Regions from separate parts of the Homo sapiens genome. Here region 1 is linked to region 2. The links are contacts of gene promoters, found by promoter capture Hi-C in human tissues and cell types (Jung and others, 2019). All regions are on one chromosome and are shown on one strand. Each heading gives the region's core, a stretch centred on a gene start or on the middle of the fragment in contact. The rest is flanking DNA. Distances are from core to core; before and after follow the strand shown. Region 1 overlaps SPG7 (SPG7 matrix AAA peptidase subunit, paraplegin). Region 2 holds the start of CBFA2T3 (CBFA2/RUNX1 partner transcriptional co-repressor 3).

Region 1 (7,312 bases), core at 1,891-4,390, 540 kb after region 2:
TGGTGCGATGTCGGCTCAGTGCAACCCCTGCCTCCTGAGTTCAAGCGATTCTCCTGCCTCAGCCTCCTGAGTAGCTGGGATTACAGGCATGCACCACCATGCCCAGCTAATTTTTGTATTTTCAGTAGATACAGGGTTTTGCCATGTTGGCCAGACTGGTCTTGAACTCCTGACCTCGTGATCTCCCCACTTCGGCCTCCCAAAGTGCTGGGATTACAGGTGTGAGCCACCACGCCCGGCTGACCTTTTTATAAAAAAAAATTTGCTGGGTAGGTGCGGTGGCTCACACCTGTAATCTGAGCACTTTGGGAGGCCAAGGTGGGATGATCACTTGAGCCCAGGAGTTTAAGACCCTCATTTCTATTATTATTATTACTATTATTATTATTATTTTTTTTTTTGAGATGGGGTCTCGCTCTGTCGCCAGGCTAGAGTGCAATGGCACGATCTCGGCTCACTGCAACCTCTGCTTCCTGGGTTCAGGCGATTCTCCTGCCTCAGCCTCTCGAGTAGCTGGGACTACAGGCGTGCGCCACCACGCCCAGCTAATTTTTTGTATTTTTAGCAGAGACAGGGTTTCACCATGTTGGCAAGGATGGTCTCAAACTCCCGATGTCAGGCGATCTGCCCATCTTGGCCTTCCAAAGTGCTGGGATTACAGGTGTGAGCCACCGTGCCCAGCCTGGAGTTTCACTCTTGTTTCCCAGGCTAGAGTGCAATGGCGTAATTTCAGATCACTGGAACCTCTGCCTCCTGGGTTCCAGTGATTCTCCTGCCTCAACCTCACGAATAGCTGGGATCACAGGCATGCAACACCAAGCCCAGCTAATTTTTGTAGTTTTGGTAGAGACCTGGTTTGGCCACGTTGGTCAGGCTAGTCTCAAACTTCTCACCTCAGGTGATCCACTCGCCTTGGTCTCCGAAAGTGCTGGGATTACAGGTGTGAGCCACCACGCCCGGCCGTTCGTTTTTTTAATAAAAGAAGAAAGTTAGATCACTTGGGGCCAGGAGTTCGAGACCAGCCTGGCTAACATGGTGAAACCCCTTGTCTACTAAAAATACCAAAAAAAAAAAAAATTAGCCAGGTGTGGTGTACGTGCTTGTAATCCCAGCTACTCCGGAGTCTGAGGCGTGAGCATCGTTTGAACCTGGTAGGCAGAGGTTGCAGGGAGCTGAGATTGTGCCATTGCACTTCAGCCTGGATAATAGAGTGAGACCTTTCTGTCTCAAACATAAAAAATTAAGAAAGAAAAGGCCGGGCGTGGTGGCTCATGCCTGTCATCCCAGCACTTTGGGAGGCCAAGGCGAGCAGATCACAAGGTCAGGAGATCGAGACCATTTTAGCTAACACGGTGAAACCCTGTCTCTACTAAAAATACAAAAAAAAAAAAAAATTAGGCGTGGTGGTGGGCACCTGTAACCCCAGCTAGTCGGGAGGCTGAGGCAGGAGAATGGCGTGAACCCAAGAGGCGAAGCTTGCAGTGAGCCGAGATCGCGCCACTGCACTCCAGCCTGGGCGACACAGCAAGACTCTGTCTCAAAAAAAAAAATTAAGAAAGAAAAAAGCGACGGCGAGACTCTTGTCTCAAAAAAAAAGAAAAAAGAAAAAAGTCGTAAGAGAAAATATATTTCCTATTTATGCAGTGGAAGCGGATCACCATAAAGAGCTTCATCCTCATGGCCTTCACCTTGAGTGGGCTGAGGAGGAGGACGAGGGGCTGGTCTTGTTGTCTTGGGTAGCAGGGGTGGAAGAAAATCCACGTGTCCGTGATCATACATAGCTCACTCCTGTGTTGCTGAAGGGTCACCTGTCATAGAAGAGGGAAGAATTGTGTGGCCTGTGCGGATTCTGCATTCAGCCTTGTGTGTTGTGTTACGGTTAACCAGGGACGTGTGCCCCACTAATAACTCTGATTCCTGGAAGGAATGGCATGGCAGCCTCCGTTGTCATGGTTCCTGGAGGGAATGGCATGGCAGCCTCCGTTGTCATGGTTCCTGGAAGGAATGGCATGGCAGCCTCCGTTGTCATGGTTCCTGGAAGGAATGGCATGGCAGCCTCCGTTGCCATGGCAAGGCAAAGCCATGGCAGCTTCCTGGTTATCACTCCTGGCATGTGGTAGGTGCTTGTCCAGTGAAATCCTAGTCGTTGCTGCATTGGCAGGTGCCCTGGCGTGAGGAAGGGCAGGCAGTCACCATGCCCTTTGCTCTCCTGGGCCCTGCATCTGCTTATGGATGAGGCTGCGTGTAGCTGACATGCGTGTCTCTCCTGCATCTGAGTAATTGTCGTCGTCTTTTTTTTTTTTTTTTTTTTGAGATGGAGCTTCGCTCTTGTTGCCGAAGTTGGAGTGCAATGCCACGATCTCGGCTCATTGCAAACTCCACCTCGTGGGTTCAAGCAGTTCTCCTGCCTCAGCCTCCCGAGTAACTGGGACTAAAGGTGCCCGCAACCATGCCCGGCTAATTTTTTGTGTTTTTAGTAGAGACGGAGTTTCACCATGTGAGCTAGGATGATCTCGATCTCCTGACGTTGTGGTCTGCCCACCTCGGCCTCCCAAAGTGCTGGGATTATAGGCGTGAGCCACCACGCCCGGCCAAGTGATTGTTTTATGTTTATTCTGTTTTGGGTTGAACTATAGTTTGCTTGGAGAAAATAATGTCTGTTAAATTTGCGTTAGAGGATAATTGTTTACTGAGCCAAATAATCTTTCTTGTGAGAACCTATTCTGGGTTTCCCCTGGGCCCTCTGCTGTGGTTTCGGCGGGAGTTGGTTTGTGTGGATTTTCAGGACTGCTGACTTGATCAGACAGGCACAACACAGTCCCGGCCCTCAGGCAGGCCTTCTCCCTGGTCTGATGCTGAACTGCATGGCGTCTGTTCAGATGAAGATTCTTTTGCCACCTCCTTAAATGAAAGAACGATACTGAATGTGGCTTAGAAACAGCTTTGCCAGCCGTGCAGAATGATTGTAAGTAGTGGTTGCCCGAAAAGTATTTGCTTGGAATACCACTCACTGATAACACTGGTGAACCTGGAAGGAATTATACGGAGTGAAAAAAGGCACCACTCACTGATAACACGAATGAACCTGGAAGGAATTATACGGAGTGAAAAAAGGCTCCGCTCACTGATAACGCGGGTGAACCTGGAAGGAATTACACGGAGTGAAAAAAGACCCTGCTCACTGGTAAGGCGGGTGAACCCAGAAGGAATTACACAGAGTGGAAAAAAGACTCCGCTCACTGATAACGCGGGTGAACCCAGAAGGAATTACACGGAGTGGAAAAAAGGCCCCGCTCACTGATAACGCGGGTGAACCCAGAAGGAATTATACGGAGTGAAAAAAGGCCGAGCTGAAAGATCACATGCCGTATGATTTTTTTTTTATACAGCATTCTCTAAAGACAAAAATTAAAGAGATGGAACACAGATTCGTGGTTGCTAGGGGTTAAGGATGGGGGAAGGAGACAGCCGGAGGGAGCCTGTGGTTGGATTGCCTCAGCTGCGGTGGGCACACACTGCGCGTGTGTCATGGGATGACCCCGGGGAGCTTGGTGGACCGTCGTGGTGGGAGAGCCTGGCTGTGATACTGTTCATAGTTTTGTGAGATGGAACCCCTGGAAGCAGGGGGACAAGGTATTGCTCTGCGTCATTTATTTTTATTTATTTATTTTTTTTTGAGATGGGGTCTGGCTCTGTCACCCAGGATGGAGTGCAGTGGCTCGATCTCTGCTCACTGCAACCTCCACCTCCCGGGTTCAAGCGATTCTCCTGCCTCAGCCTCCTGAGTAGCTGGGATTACAGGCGCGTGCCACCACACCCAGCTAATTTTGTTTGTTTTTAGTAGAGATGGGGTTTCAGTATGTTGGTCAGGCTGGTCTCGAACTCCTGACCTCATCATCTGCCTGCCTCGGTCCCCACAAAGTGCTGGGATTACAGGTGTGAGCCACTGCGCCCAGCCTGCTCTGTGCCATTTCTTACAACTACATGTGAAGGTACAGTTACTTCACGGTTGCTAACTAGAACTAGAAAACTAGAAAAAAAGCAGTTGCTAACATTTTTTTTTTCTTTTTTTGAGACGGAATTTCGCTCTTGTTGCCCAGCCTGGAGTGCAGTGGCGCGATCTCAGCTCACCGCAACCTCCGCCTCCCGGGTTCAAGCCATTCTGTTGCCTTAGCTTCCCGAGTAGCTGGGATTACAGGCATGCGTCACCACACCTGGCTGATTTTTTGTATTTTTAGTAAAGATGGGGTTTCTGCATGTTGGTCAGGCTTGTCTCAGACTCCCGACCTCAGGTGATGCACCCGCCTCAGCCTCCCGAAGTGCTGGGATGACAGGCGTGAGCCACCGCGCCCGGCAGCAGTTGCTAACATTTTCACACAGCTTCTTGTGGAGAAGGCCCCTTTCCACTGTGAAGTGTGAATGCGTCAAGGTGGAGCCCCTGCCCCGGAGGCCTCTCCTCTGTCAGGGTCAGCTGTGGCGCTCGGGGCTGCTGTCTTCAGGGGCGGTTTCCAAGTGGGATGAGCCTGATGTGGCCCCTGTGGCTGCTTCCTTGAGACTCAGTGGTATCAGCCGTTTGTTTTTAGATGACTGATTGAAGTGAGTTATGTGATCATAATATCTAATTGTCAACAATTGACTTTTTTTCCTCGAAGAGGGATTTTGGCAACAAAACTTGCCAGTGGTCCTGCAGGCTGCCGTCCACGAGGTGTGCATATGAGGCTCAGGAGGCATGTGCGTTTCCTGAGCGCCTTGGCGGACAGCCTCAGGAACACAGGCAGCAGGTGCTGAGGTCACACCCCAGTTCTGTGTGAGCTGGCGGCTCGTCTCAGCATCCTGAATAACCGTCCTGGAAGCACACAGGAGGAAGGTACCTGCAGCCCTGGGTGCGCAGGCACAAATGACCACAACACTGAAGGCGTGGCGGGAAGAGGTGCATCGGGCAGCGCAGTGGAAGGGACGCGCTGGGCGTTTGGGTTGAACAGAAGTTAAGGACTTCATGGGAAGGAGATGGGGGGTCTTGCAGGCAGAGGAAGTTCCTTTTATACCTAGAGTGCTTTTGTTTGTTTGTTTGTTTGTTTGTTTGTTTTGAGATGGAGTTTCACTCTTCGTTGCCCAGGCAGGAGTGAAGTGGCGCGATCTCAGCCCACTGCAACCTCCGCCCGCCATGTTTAAGCGATTCTCCTGCGTTAGCCTCCCTAGTAGCTGGGCTTACAGGCGCGTGGTACCACGCCCAGCTAATTTTTGTATTTTTAGTAGAGACAGGGTTTCACCATGTTGGCCAGGCTGGTGTTGAACTCCTGACCTCAGGTGATCCACTCACCTCAGCCTCCCAAAGTGCCTGGATGACAGTCGTAAGCCACTGCGCCCAGCCCCAGCTACGTTGTGTTTTTTTTTTCCCCCTGTAGAGATGGGTTTTCGCTATGTTGCCCAGGCTGGTTTCTAACTCCTGGACTCAAGTGATCCACCTGTCTCGACTCCCAAAGTGCTGGGATGACAGGTGTGAGCCATTGCGTCCGGCTGGAATTTCTTATGGTTCGTTTCCTTAGGTTAAAGTTTCAGAAGTAGGATTTTTGAATTAAAGAAACTAAATACTGTCTATGGCGCTTGATACATCTTGCCAGGCAGTTATCAGACAGGGTTGTACTGGTTTGCGCCACCCCAGAACGTGTGCAAGGCCTGTTTGTGGACCCTCCTTGGCCTGGCTCTCTAGGTCATCCACCTGCGTGTGCTCACAGAGCATATGGATTTTTCCCTGCGGTGCCTTCACTTGTGGCTGGAAGAGCCTTCTCTGTGATCCTGTGTCCTGGGTGCTCTGTTGGCCTCCTTCTTGCCACCGAGGAAGACACGGAGGCTAGAGAGGGCTCACTGAACAGTGAAATGATTGGAACCTAAGGAGCTTCAGCAGAAGGTGTCATGATGGGGCTAGGCTCTCCCGAGGGCTGTGTGGCCTCAGCGTCTTGTTGGGCAGATCCTGCTCCCTGACACAGCGGGGCTAAGAGCCAGCCTGTGTCACACACCTGTGAATTAACATGCCTGGCTGACCCTCACTGGAGAAGGGCTACACGTTTGTGACGAAAGCAGAAGAGGTGTTTATTGTAGACCAAATCCAAGCTGTCATTTTACTTTTATTAGAAATTATTTGGGATTTGGCTCATGCCTATAATCCCAGCACTTTGGGAGGCTGAGGTGGGAGAATCACCTGAGCTCAGTCGTTTGAGACTGCCTTGGCAACATAGTGAGACCTCATCTTCTACTCAAATTTAAAAAATTAGCCGGGCGCAGTGGCGTGCACCTGTACTCCCAGCTACTCAGGAGGCTCAGTTGGGAGGATCACTTGAGCCCAGGAGGTGGAGGCTGCAGTGAGCCCAGATATGCTCATGAAGCACTGTGGGTTTCTCCTGCAGTGCACCACCGCACTCCAGCCTGGGTGACGGAGAGAGACCCCATCTCAACAAAAATAAAAAAGAAAAGAAAATGGGACACTGTTGATACAGTCACAGAGCTGAAGGAGCAGCATGGGTCGTGATTCTGGATCGTCCCTCCAGGGCAGCTAGAGTAGCTGCTGGGAAGTATTTCTCTCAGTTTCCCGGGAGCAGTGTGGGTCGTGATTCTGGATTGGCCCTCCAGGGCAGCTAGAGTAGCTGCTGGGAAGTATTTCTCAGTTTCCCAGTGCACCCCATGTTTCTAGTAGAAAACACAATTGGTAATTAAATATTGGAAGTAGTTTCTAACAATTGGATACTCACCTGAGAACATAAATTTGCTCTCTGAAATAAGCGGTGGGCTTTAAATAATTGCCTTTGTGAATATGAAATTTAAGTATTAGATGCACGATTAGGATCGATTGTAACAAAACAGTGATATCTAAAATATACCTTCATGTTTTCAAAGTAATTATTTTGCCACCTTTTTAGTGGGTTTCATTTTGTGTTTTTAAGCCGATTTAAAAATTGTTTGAATTCGTCTAAAATGATTGTTGGAAAGGAAGGTGGTACATGGGACGTGCCCAGGCCAGGCTTTGATCCCAGCATGAAGCCCCCGCAAGACAATGCAGGAGGAGAAGAGCTGTGAATCTCAAGAAGACGTGAGCCTCTCGTCCCGGCTGCTGGGTCCGTGGCGGTTTGTCCGCAGGCGCAGGTGTTCTGGAAATGACGTCGTTACCACCGCTGGGTCTGTGGCGGTTTGTCCGCAGGCGCTGGTGTTCTGGAAATGACGTCGTTCCCGCCGCTGGGTCCGTGGCGCTGTGTCCGCAGGCGCAGGGGCGCAGGTGTTCTGGAGATGATGTCGTTCCCGCTGCTGTGTCCGTGGTGGT
Region 2 (6,339 bases), core at 461-2,960:
GAAGCACCCGGCCCAAGGCCACTCAGCGCCAGGGGATAGACAGGGCCGCTCCAGAGAGGACGGGATGGCAGATGCCAGGGCCAGTGGGCTGGTGCTGCCTTGAAGGTGGCTCTGAGTCACCCATTCGGGAGAAACGAACAGTAGCACTGGCTGTGGTGAGGTCCGGCCTTTGCATTCCGGGCACCCGGGGTTGGGAAGTTCCTGCTCACATCTGGGGCCCTTGTGGGGGATGGCCCTGGGGCCCCACGGGCAGCTGCAGGTGGGAACAGCCTCAGGCAGCCGCCGCCAGGACCTGCTCAGGGAATGTGGTCTCCAGAGATGGGGACACCCCTCGGTCCCGGGTTCTGTGTGTGAGTGTCAGGGGTGCAGTCAGACCTTGGACCTGACGGCCTCAGTGAGAGCCCCGCGAGACGGGAGACTGTGAGCTCCTGAAGGTTCCGACGGCTGCTGGGAGTGTGGCCACGAGGGCCACTGGGAATCGGGGCCACCAGCCTGCAGCTGCAGCCCCCAGCGTCCGGGGATCCTTGTCCTGGGACTTCGCAGGCTCGGGTGGGGGGTATCAGCAATAGCTGGCGTCCTGCTGGACTGGACCCCTCCCCAGAGCCCGAAGCCCCCAGAAGGGCAGGCCCAGGTTCCCCGTAAACCCCCACTGCCCTGGCTGGAATCGTTCCTCGGACAGGGGCCCAGGGTTGGGTCCATTTCCTCCTCACCGGGGTCTTGGGCCAGTGCCCTCCCCTCTGGCCTCAGTTTCCTCATCCAACCTGCTGTGAGGTGTCACACCCGGAGGGCATCCCAGGAGGAGGAGGGCTCTCTTTCTAGGACCCCCCCATCACTTCCCGGCTGCGGCCCTCCCACCCCCAGGAGAACACAGCCCACCCTCCTAGACGGGGCTGAGCAGCCCGGCCTCCAGCATCTGCCTCTGGGTGGGGCTGGGGCACCTGGCTGGCACCTGCCAAACCCTCACCAGCCCACCTGCCCCAGCTGTGCAGGACCTGCCTGTGGGGTGGCCCTGTTGATATCTGAGGTGAGTCAACACGGCCATCCGTGCCGGCACTGTCAACTAAGCTGGGCAGGCCCCGCGAAGCTCTAAGGAGTCACAGCCCCGGCACCGGCTGCCGCTCTCTGCCCCCACCCCACCACCTTCCCCTCGAGCCTCTTACCTGGGCCGCCCTTCCTGGGACCCCGGGGTGCGGAGCAGCCGGCAGATGCCAGGAGGCCGCTCTCCAGCACAGGGTGCGTCTGGGACATGGAGCCACAGGTGGATCCCGAGGCTGAACTGGCTGCCCTGTCCCTCAGTCTTGAAGCCGGCATGAGGAGGGCCACCCTCAGGGGCCAACCTGGAGCCCAGGACAGGCCTCTACCAGGACTGCCTTTCCCGACCTCCTGCAGCCTTGAGGGAAAGAGGAGGGGCTGGGCCAGCTGGGGCGTCCTGGAGTTGGGCCTCTGTCCCTGGAAAGCCGAGGCCCTCCCGGCCACCAACTGGGTGTCCTCTGCCCTGGGGAGGGGGTGGGAGCCCTGGGGCTCATGTGACGCGGGGCGGGCCTGGGGCTGCAGGCTGGGGAAGGTCTCCCTGCAGCCTGCGGGTGAGGCAGCCAGCTGTGTCCCCGTGATAATGCCGGGGCCGGAGGCCTGCAGCTGCGCCCGCCACTTCCCTGACAGGAACCATCTGGGGCCCTGCCCTGCGCGGCCTTCCCTCGGGCCATTCCGGTTTGACCTTCCAACAACTTCCTCCTCCCAGGCAGCTCTGGTGACGTCCCACCCACCCTGAGCCCTACAGCGTGGCCACTGGGCATGTGTTTCCTCGGCCCCAGGGCAGGTGTGCAGGCCTGAGGGCAGCTCCATCCTGGCCCAGAGCCCTTGGCCTGTCCCGCCCACCCATCTTCCCCCCAGGGCTTGGCCCTTCCTTCAGCCTGGGGTATCTGGGGGTGTCCTCCCTCTCCGCTAGCCCTCAGTCAGCCGAGCTTTCCCCAGCACCCCTTTTAGTTTGCCCCCGCTCCAGGGGCCACCCTGCCCGTGTTCCTGTGTCTGCTGACTGTGCCCTTGAGCAAGGCGGGGCCTCTGACCAGCCTCTCCTCAGCCCCTGCTCCGGGGTTCTTGGGCACCTGACCTGTCCTCAAAGTACCTCCCGCCTGCTGGGAAGGAAACCCTCTCTCTCTGCTTGGCCTCGTGCACAGGGCTCCTGGCCCTCTGTGGAGACAGCAGGGCTCCCCCACTCTCCGGGGGTGCCTCAGAAAGACCCTCACCCCACGCCCCAGCGGCCGCCTCCGGTGAGCAGCCTGGAGTTTGCGGGGGTCGGGGGTAGGTGGCTTCTCCAGTCTGGGAAATTCCAGAAGCCACCTCAGAGCACTCTTGGGACTACTTAGACCCTAGGGAGAGTCCTAGGACCCCTTTCTAGCGGCCGTTGGGCTGAGAGAGTGAGGCACATCCCAGATGCTGGGAAAAAAAGCCACTTTCTAAAGCTCCCTGACAACTGTCAGAGGGCAGGAGCTTCCTGGGAGGGGACAGTGACCCTTCGGCCCTGCAGCCCTGGTTCGGTGGCTTTTCTGATGCCATGGCTGGAGGTTTCCCGGCCTCAGACAGGCCAGAGGTGTGGAGCCCGCAGACCCAGGGCCGGCTCACGGGCATCTGTGCTATTTTGATTTGATTTGATTTGAGTTTTAGGTCACGTTTGCACGCAGTTAATAATTCAAGCCGTGCAGGAGTAAAAGCCGACTCCTTCCCCGCAGGGTCTCCAGGTGTCCCGGGTCTCCCTGTCCCAATAGTCGAGTGTCTTTCTCGAGTTGGTGACAACAAGCTGCATGCCAGCGTGTGTGTCCAGCTTACAGTGGGGATGTGTTTGTTCCTGCTGGGGAACTTCCCAGACGCCAGGCCCACCCGGGGCCTCCCCTGCCCTGGGTGGTCGGCCGTTCTGCCCCCAGGACTGAGGCTGGAGGGGACATTCCTGCCAGCCCGGGGCCCATCCCCTGGTGCCATCATTCGGTCCCCACGTCCCCTGCTGTTCCCTGTGCTCTGGCTCAGGGTGGGATTCACAGTGAGGGTCCTGGGGGCCCTGACCCTCCTGGTTTCCTCATTTGTGCAGGGTGCACGATCCTAACGGCGTCAGCTCCTACAGCGTTTCCGGGAGTGGAGACAGCAGAGGCTCTGAGCCGCCACATGGGCCGGGGCCACCGTGAGCATGTGGCTGGGGTTGGTCTGTGTCAGTGCCTATTCCCCAGCTGTGTGCAGTGAGAGTCTCAGAGTCGGGGAACTGAGGGTCTCAGGGGGCACAGCCCCCACTCCGTGAGGCAGCAGGACAGCACCCTGGGTGAGGGTGGTGGCTCCCCCCACCCGGGGTAGGAGACAGGCAGCCCTGCCCCCAGCCCTGAGGCAGATGTTCGAGGCCTGCACCTGCGCCCCCCACAGATGGGACACTTCCACTTTCGCAATGAGGCCCTGAGCTCCCCGCCTGGCCCCGTCTTGCCTGGTGTCTAATCAGGGGGTCTGACGGAGGTGGGGTTGGAAAGAGAAGAGAAGAAAGTTGCCCACAAGTTGGGGGCAGGAGCTGCCCCCCAACTTTGGCGGCCACCTGGGGGTGTGGGCACCACTCCCCACCTCCCCACTACCGGCCTCCTCTCCCCCAGGCCGGGCAGTTGGTGCTTGTGGGGAAGCAGACGTTGGCTGTGGCTTTCAGAGCTGGGCGGCCAGGAGATAAGGGGCTGGGGAGGAAGTGGCTGCAGAGGTGGGGGCAGCAGGAGGGGCCTCGGCTTCTCCCAGGGACCTCTGCTGTCTGCAGCCAGCACCCAGCCTCTCGGGGCAGGAGGGGCCTTTCCTTCCTTCCTAAAAGACCTATTAGGGCCTACTGGGGTTCTTTCGGTGTCCAAGACAGCCCCTGGTCCTGCTCTCTGGGAACTATAGGAGACACGTTCCATCAACATGGCCCAGCATGTGGGGCCCATAGGGCAGTTGGGGAAACTGTCCCTGGGTGGGCAGAGGGGCCCTAAGGCAGGCTTTGGTGAATCTGTAGGATGGCCAGAGAACTGGAGGAGGGTGAGGGGGCAGTGGGGGAGATGACGCCATGTGGGGGTGGGTGAGGAGGCCTTCCTTCAGGCAGGGTGTCTTATGTTTGCCTTCTCTTCTAGCATGTAGGAACCCCCCCACCCCCAACACACACACCCTTCACTGCTGGATGAATAGATGAATGAATAGATTGATGAATGAATGGGTGGGTGGGTGAGTGGATGGGTGGGTAGATGATGGGTGGATGGGTGGGTGGGTGGATGAGTGAATGGGTGGATGGATGGGTGGATAGATGGGTGAGTGGGTGGATAGATGGGTGAGTGAGTGAGTGGGTGGATGGGTGGGTGGATGGATAGATGTGTGGATGGGTGGGTGGATGGATAGATGGGTGAATGGGCGGAAAGATGGGTGAATGGGTGGATGGATGAATGGATAAATGGGTAAATGGGTGGGTGGATGGAGAGATGGGTGAATGGGTGGGTAGGTAGATGGATGGGTGTGTGGGTGAATGAATGGTGGATGGGTGTGTGGGTGGGTGGGTGGATAGATGGGTGAATGTGTGGATGGGTGGATAGACGGGTGAATGGGTGGATGAGTGGATAGATGAGTGAATGGGTGGATGGATGGATGGATGGATAAATGGGTGAATGGGTGGTGGATGGATAGATGGGTGGATGGGTGGGTAGATGGGTGAATGGGTGGATGGGTGGATAGATGGGTGAATAGGTGGAAGGATGGATGGATAAATGGGTGAATGGGTAGGTGGATGGATAGATGGGTGGATGGGTGGATGGATGGAGAGATGGGTGAATGGGTGAGTAGGCGAATGGATAGGTGGGTGGGTGAATGTGTGGATGGATGGGTGGATGGAGAGATGGGTGAATGGGTGGGTAGGTGGATGGATGGGTGTGTGGGTGAATGAATGGTGGATGGGTGTGTGGGTGGGTGGGTGGATAGATGGGTGAATGTGTGGATGGGTGGATAGACGGGTGAATGGGTGGATGAGTGGATAGATGAGTGAATGGGTGGATGGATGGATGGATGGATGGATGGATAAATGGGTGAATGGGTGGTGGATGGAGAGATGGGTGAATGGGTGAGTAGGTGAATGGATCGGTGGGTGGGTGAATGTGTGGATGGATGGGTGGATGAATGGGTGCGTGGATGGGTGGATGGATGAGTGGATCAGTGAATGGGTGGGTAGGGATGGATGGGTGGATAGACAGGTGAATGAGTGGATGGATGGATACATGGGTGGATGGGTGGATAGGTGGATGGATGGGTGGATGGGTGGGTGGATGGGTGAATGGGTGGATGGGTGGATGGATGGGTGGATGGATGGGTGGATAGATGGGTGGATGGGTGAATGGATGGATGGATGGATGGGTGAATAGATGGGTGCATGGGTGAATGGGTGGGTAGGTGGATAGATGGGTGGGTGGGTCAATGTGTGGATGGATGGGTAGAGGGGTGGGTGGATGGGTGGATGGGTGGGTGGGTGGGTGGATGGGTGGATGGGTGGGTGGGTGGATAGGTGGATCAATGAATAAGTGGTAATATGGTTTTATGTAAGTCTCATGCCAGCCCACTTTACAGAGGAGGGAGGAGGCCCACAAGGGTGCCATCCCCAGTCACAAAGCCTGGAGAGAGGAATGTAAGTCGCGAAGCCGCTCCAGAGGATGCTGAACAGTGTCATGTACGGAGGAGCCTTGCCCCGGCTTTCTGGTCCTGAATAAGGTGTGGACAGTTGGGGTGAGCCACAGAGGGAGTGGGGGCCGGGGGTGGAGGCAGGAAAAAACCTGCCCCGGGTGTTCAAGGCAGTGCAGGTGAAGCGGCTCATAGCTGGATGCTCAGCCACTCCCCAGCTCAGGGCACGGCTGAGCAAACCCAGAACCACGGAGAAGGTGCCATGGCCGGAGGGCTGGGGTGATTTGGGGAAACCTGGTACAAAGTGGTGCAGGATTCCAGGGCTCTGAGACTGCAGTTACTGGGCGCTCCTGCCACCCCCAGAAAGAGCAGGTCTACCTGGGGAGTCCGAGCCGAGGCGCAGGCCGGAGACACCCCAATGAGAGCACGGAACTGGAATCGGGGTCTTCACCTTCCCGGTGTGTGGACTCCTTGGGCATCTAGTAAGCAAATAAGTTCACAGAATTATGAAGGAAACCCATTTTACCAAAATACAGCTACCACCCCGTTAGAACATTCTGGTGTAGTGAGCACTGTGCTTTTCATTAAGCCATGATTTAAAGTGGTGAGGCGTGGGAACCGCATTAGGAGACGTGGTGGTGAGTGGAAGGCGAGGGGGGTCTTTTGTGGAGCCCTGGACCCTCCCAAGGCGTGGCT

Evidence for each region. Contacts are between HindIII fragments. The study calls those that stand out against the background at their distance.
Region 1: a fragment that was not itself captured here is called in contact with the fragment with the promoter of CBFA2T3 in region 2 in 1 of the 25 tissues and cell types used here (spleen).

Annotation. Positions count from the first base shown.
Region 1 is chr16:89,515,326-89,522,637 of GRCh38, forward strand. All of the region lies in intron 3 of SPG7 (SPG7 matrix AAA peptidase subunit, paraplegin), which reads left to right. Among named protein-coding and RNA genes, the nearest start is that of SPG7, 11 kb to the left of the region's middle. RefSeq lists enhancers at 3,843-4,343, 4,344-4,844, 6,761-7,312. The HindIII fragment of the contact is 6,254 bases long and covers 14-6,267 here.
Region 2 is chr16:88,975,497-88,981,835 of GRCh38, forward strand. CBFA2T3 (CBFA2/RUNX1 partner transcriptional co-repressor 3) reads right to left here and starts at 1,711. Exons shown (of 12, transcript NM_005187.6): 1 at 1,161-1,711. The coding sequence starts at 1,311. LOC124903756 (a long non-coding RNA gene) reads left to right here and starts at 5,567. Exons shown (of 2, transcript XR_007065183.1): 1 at 5,567-5,733. RefSeq lists enhancers at 1-380, 33-242, 2,083-2,132. The HindIII fragment of the contact is 13,654 bases long and covers 1-6,339 here.